Linked DNA regions of Homo sapiens: region 1 is linked to region 2. The links are contacts of gene promoters, found by promoter capture Hi-C in blood cells and fetal thymus (Javierre and others, 2016). All regions are on one chromosome and are shown on one strand. Each heading gives the region's core, a stretch centred on a gene start or on the middle of the fragment in contact. The rest is flanking DNA. Distances are from core to core; before and after follow the strand shown. Region 1 holds the start of RIPOR1 (RHO family interacting cell polarization regulator 1). Region 2 holds the start of CARMIL2 (capping protein regulator and myosin 1 linker 2).

Region 1 (2,801 bases), core at 291-2,790, 120 kb after region 2:
CCCGGACCCCCCACCCCGGAACCGGGCGGAGGCTGTCGGGTGGCCTCACTTCCTGCCGGCCCCCTCCCTGGTCAGCTGGTTACATTCCCTGGCCGCGCGCTGGGAGCCAGGCGGCCTCCCCCGGGCCGGGCCTGGCCAGGGCTGAGTCCGAGCGGCGACGCAGAGGGGCCGCCGTGACTCACCCGCGCCCTCCCCGCCCGCTTCTCTCAAGCGGGACCCAGCCCAGAGTCCTGAGTCCTCCCCTCACCCGCACCCAAACCCAGACCCCTGGGGCGGCTCACCTTGCTCCTCTCTCCCGCCGCAGTCACAGGACCCAAGCCGGAGAGGGCGGTGGAAGAAGGAGCTATGCCAGTCCTCCTTGTCCCGCTGGAGTATTTTGTACCTCAGCCCCCAATTATCATTCCTCTCCTCCCTCCAATACCACGGAGGTGGGTGTCGCAGGGGCAAGGACTCAGATCTAATCCTCGCTTCTCCCAAACCAGCTGTGTGACCTTGAGAATACTACTAACCTCTCTGGGCCTGTTTCTGCATCTGCCAGATGGTCATAACCCTCCTCAGATGCTGTGCGTTGGCCGAATGCGGCAGGCCCAGGGCGCGGCCCCGCAGACTGCAGCCAGGGCACAAGTATTGTTACACGAGGCTGCGCACAGTAGGTGCTGGGGCGGCCAGCCTGGACACACGTTAGAACTGGCTGGGGAGGGTCTGTAGGGGAGGCCGGACTCAGGGCTCACCCTGGAGAGGAGGACAAAGGGTGCTGAATCTGGACTGAATCCGACCTCTAGCCCTGGTGAGCAGCCCCTTGCCCAAACCAGTTCTGCAGAGAGCCCAGGCCCGGCTGTTGCAGGAACCTTGCGCCAACCTCCATTTCCAGGGAAAAGCTCCGTTCCCCGACAAGGACGATCCTCTCCGGCTTCGGCTACGCCAGGTTTGGGCGGAGAGCCCGGCTCCAGCCCAGGCTCGGTCACCTCGGGGCCGGCCACAAAGCCGCTTAGGCCGGCCCCTAGAGCTAGGAGGATTAGCTCAGCTCCTAGGCCGGCCCGCACCCTTCGTCGCCCCCTCCCCATTTCCAGCCCAGCCTCCCCTGCGGCGAAGGCAGCAAGGGCTCCCAGGGAGCGCGCGTGCCAGGGCCCAGGCTGGCGCCTTGAGCCCGCTCTCTGGCCTGGCCCATCCCAGCGCCCCGGGGCACCGGCCGCCAGGGCCTTGCCGTGGGAGGAAGGCAGCAGCGCCAGGCTCTGCAGGCCCGGAGGCGGCGGCTTTTGTGGGAGAAGCTGCGTTCTCCACGCCCGGGGGGAGGGGAGGAAAGACAAGGCGCGGCCGGGGTCCGGGAGATGGGGTGAGGCGGGACAGAGCCGCAGATCCCGGACCCACCGGGCGGCGCCGGCGGGGGGGCACCAGAACCTCCGCGCCTGCTCCCCGCCCGGCCTGCAGCCCCGGAAACGGCGCGGGACACTCACATGGCTGCGCTGGGCTGCGCGGACCTCGCGCTGTCCTTGCGCTCGGAGGTGCCCGGCCTGGTCGCGCCGCAGCTGCCGCTGTCGCCGCCGCAGGCGCCGGCCCCTCCCTCCGCCCGCCGCCCCGCCGCCCCTCCCCTGGCCCGCCGGGCCCCACCCCCTGCGCTCCCGCGGCTCCCGCACCCCTAGAGGCGCCCACGGCTCGCTCCGCCCTCTCGGATAACGGGGCAGGCCGGTGGCCCACGCAGCCCACCAGCTTGCAGGGAGGGCAGACCCTGGGGGATGTGAGGGAGGCTTTCTCACGCAGACCCTAAAACGGTGAGCGCCAGGGAGCCCCGCCTGCTTGTCCCCTCCCCAGATCCCTCGGGCTCTGGAGACCTTGCGGGCCCCCTGTCCGTGACCACCTGAAACAGGTCCTGGAGCTGCTACTGCTGGCTTAGGCTGGTTGGTGGAAAGGATCCAGGGCTGTTGTGAAGGCCTTGGGGAGTCCAGAAGCCGCCTGGCACCTTCTGGGTCCAGACGCTGCCCTTCAGCCCTGCCATTTCAGCCAGCCTCAGCGTCGCTGTAGAGGCAGGCCGCCCTTTCTGCCACTGTCTGGCTGGTAAGTCCAGGCTCATAGCCGGGTCATGCATTCCCCACTCATTGGGTACTGGTTTTCGGGCAGTCTTGGGGTGGGGACGCTGGCAGGGTCCGGGTACAGGGCCATGTGTTGGGCAACCCAGTCCTTTCCAAAGCCGGGGCTAGAATGCTGGCCCTCCACACAGTCGGTAAAGGTGGGGCTGAGAGTCGACCCCATGTTGGGGTCAAAGGGCCAGTTCCACTCCCCCGCTCCTCCCATCAATCAGACACCCCTGGCCCTTCCAACCTGGACACCCCTGAGGCTTCTCCAGGCCTTGCACTCCCGCAGCCCTCATGTATGTCAGACCTACCCAGGAATGGTTTCAGGGACAGTAAGAGGTCCCTGAATATCTGTACCCCGCCCCCACCAGTCCTGAGGGCTGTTTTTTTGTGTGTTTTGCTTGTTTGCTTGGTTTTGTTTGGTCGGGTTTTTTTTTTTTTTTTTTGAGACAGAGTGTCACTGTCGCCCAGGCTGGAATGCAGTGCAAGCTCCACCTCCCAGGTTCATGCCATTCTCCTGCCTCAGCCTCCCGAGTAGCTGGGACTACAGGCGCCCACACCACGCCCGGCTAATTTTTTGTATTTTTGGTAGAGATGGGGTTTCACCATGTTAGCCAGGATGGTCTCGATCTCCTGACCTCGTGATCTGCCCGCCTTGGCCTCCCAAAGTGCTGGGATTACAGGCATGAGCCACCGCGCCCAGCCTGTTTGGTCGGTTTTTTAGAGATGGGC
Region 2 (2,752 bases), core at 202-2,701:
GGCCCCCCCAGCTTGCGGGTCTGGGGAGGCAGAGGTGGGGCAGGCTGGAAGGCCTGTGGCTCTGCCTTCACCCTTACCACAGGGGCTGCAGGGGTCAGTGGACTCCGAGGGGCTGCTTCTCTCCAGCCGAGCCAGCATGGAGGCTGGTGTGGGCCTCCGGAATAGCTTCCTGGTAGGGGGTTAAGGAGAAGGGGGCAAAGGACTTCCAGCCTCTGGGATGGGAAGCAGCCCTTCTCATGCACTCCCTCCTCCCCTGCCAGCCCCTCGAATTTGCCAGGCCTCACCCAAGGGTCGAGCGAGGGAAGACCTTCTTGATGGCTGCAGCCACGTGCTGGGCCAGCTGTTCCAGGGCGGCCACACCAGGAAACTCCAGGACCAGCTCACGCAGGGACTCCAGCTCAAAGGTGACCTAGGGAAGGGGCACTACTAGGCCTCGGCTCCACACATGGGCGCAGGTGATGGTGGTAGCATGAAGACCAGGCTGCAGGCCCAGGTAGGGTACTAGGTGTCTCACCTGAGGGGGTGTCTCCTGCAGCGCCATGGCCTGGACCTCCAGGTAGCTGAACGTGCAGTCCACCTAGAAAGGGCCTAGATCAGCTGGGACCAAGCCCCCAGCCCCGCCCTCATGGAAGTCCAGTCCTTTGGGCAGCCTGGGGCAGAGCCAGATCTGCCTGGACTCCCCTCCTGTCGGCTGCCCAGAGCCCAGTGCTGGTGCAAAGTCAGGGCCCACAAGGCCAAGAAGGACCACTCTGCAGATGCAGCCCCCTGCCAAGGTAGCTGCTGGCGGGCGGGGGTGTGGCCAGGCCCTGGGACTCACCCTCAGCGGGAGGCAGGTGGTGTGCAGCAGGTAGGCTCTCCATCGTAGCAGTGCCTGGGGAAAGACAGTCTGATATCCTGGGCAGAGCAAGAGGCTCTTTCTGTGGGGCCACAGCCGCCTCCCCGGCTCTGTCCCCTGCCCCATACCAGGACATGGTTTTGCACAGCACCCTCCCCGGGTAGCCAGGTTTTCAGCAGCAGCTCCACCTCTTTGGGCCACAGGAACCTGGTGATCTCGCCTGTGGAAGGGCAGCCTGCTGGGTGACTTCAGTCCTTGCACAGAAGCCACTGGTGCCCACAGTCTGTGCCAGGCTGGGGCCCTGGGGCTTATCTGCGGCCAGCGAGGAAGGAGGGGAGAGGATCTGGGGCGCCTGCCCTCCTGGGGAGCAGGGAGGACCTCTGACCAGGCCCTCTGGGGCGCTGGGTGGGCCTCTGATTTTGGGGCTGCACTACTTCCTCCCGGCCAAGAAGGCAGGAAGGGCCAGCGCTTACCTCGGAGCTCACAGGAGATGCCGTCGGGGGTCTGGGCCATGGGCCGGGCGGGCCGGGGAGGCCCAACGAGCTCCGGCGGGAAACAGCAGAGGACGAGCGCGCACACAGGAAGCCTGGGGCCCAGACCCGCACGGCAGCCACCTGCTCCTCCGGCGGCGGAAGGTGCGCGCCGCTTCCTGCCAGGCCGCCCCCGGCCCGGCCCCTCCCCGCCCCGGCCTCGCGGCTCGAGAGCTTGCCCGGGAGCGGGGTTGTGGGAGGGGGGCCGAGTCCCACCTGCCCGCCCGCCCCGTCGCCCAGGAGCTTCTCCGCCAGGGTAGACGTCGGGGTGGGCAGTGGCGTGGCCGGGAGGGTCGCGGGTGTGGCGGGCCTCCAGCGGGTCCTTGCCCCCGGCTTCCACCCCGCCCCGCAGTCCCTGCCGCGAACACCAGGGGACGCTGCCTGCCTGGGGATCCCCGCGGCCCACCGGGGCTGGTCCCCTCCAAAGCCCAGGCTGCGGAGGTGGACGAGGCGCCTGGCAGAAGGGGGACTGTTCAGCAAGGAGCGCCCGAATTCTGCCAACACCGGAGGTCCTGCCCGTTGCTCCGAACCTGGAGTCCGTGACCCTGTTAGGGATCCAAGAGATTTTGAATGGGTGGGAAAAAATGTCAGATGGGGCCAGGCGCGGTGGCTCACGCCTGTAATCCCAGCACTTTGGAAGGCCGAGGAAGGAGGAACGCTTGAGCCAAAGAGTTCGAGACCAAGCTGGGCAACATAGGGAGACCCTGTCTCTGCAAAATAATTTACAAAATTAGACGGCGTGATGGCGTGTGTCTGTAATCCTAGCTACTTGGGAGGCTGAGGTGGGAGGATCACTTGAGCTTGGGAGGCAGAGTTTGCAGTGAGCGGAGATCGCACCACTGTACTCCAGCCTGGGTGACAAAGCCAGGTCCTGTCTAAAAAAAAAAAAAAAAAACAGCCTGATGGGTCCAGACGCCCTTCCTTGCCGCAGAGGTGGGGTCAGGGCCGAAGGTGAGGGTGTACCCGGAGCCTTCGGGGGGAAGCCTGGGGCTAAGGTGAGCCCTGAACCCCAAGCACTTCATAGAGGGCCGGAGTGAGTCGTCCAGGTACATGAGGGTCTTCTTGTGTCTGCCTTCTCCCCAGGCTGGAGAGAGTTTGGGAGGGGGCAGCCAGAGAGAGAGAAATAAGCCAGTGTCTCCAGGGCTGAGAGGGGTCAGACAGTCATAGGGTGGGGCCTGGTAGCCTGTTGCCCTCTCAAAGACCAGGACCTAGATTCTGGAAAGTTCACAGGAAGAGACTGCATTTTTTTTCTTCTATTACAATCTAAACTCCACTTAAGCGGTAAGGAACAGCAGTCTACCCTGCCCATAGCTCAGCAAGGTGGAGGTGAAATGACAGCTAAGGGTGACAAGGAGGAGTCAGCTGCAGAAGATGCAGCACAGAGAGT

The links. The method cuts DNA at HindIII sites, captures the fragments that hold promoters and counts their contacts. A CHiCAGO score of 5 or more calls a contact.
Region 1: the fragment with the promoter of RIPOR1 here is called in contact with the fragment with the promoter of CARMIL2 in region 2 in 10 of 17 cell types (endothelial precursors, naive B cells, megakaryocytes and 7 more); the score reaches 9.5 in endothelial precursors.

The regions. Positions count from the first base shown.
Region 1 is chr16:67,527,568-67,530,368 of GRCh38, reverse strand. RIPOR1 (RHO family interacting cell polarization regulator 1) reads right to left here and starts at 1,540. Exons shown (of 22, transcript NM_024519.4): 1 at 1,455-1,540. LOC100505942 (a long non-coding RNA gene) reads left to right here and starts at 1,624. Exons shown (of 2, transcript NR_104656.1): 1 at 1,624-2,052. RefSeq lists silencers at 1-213, 1,214-1,443, 1,474-1,583. The HindIII fragment of the contact is 8,124 bases long and covers 1-2,801 here.
Region 2 is chr16:67,643,843-67,646,594 of GRCh38, reverse strand. It overlaps CARMIL2 (capping protein regulator and myosin 1 linker 2), which reads right to left and starts at 1,451. Exons shown (of 38, transcript NM_001013838.3): 1 at 1,309-1,451; 2 at 964-1,055; 3 at 818-871; 4 at 515-577; 5 at 285-409; 6 at 78-169. The coding sequence starts at 1,348. RefSeq lists a silencer at 1,368-1,757. The HindIII fragment of the contact is 10,344 bases long and covers 1-2,752 here.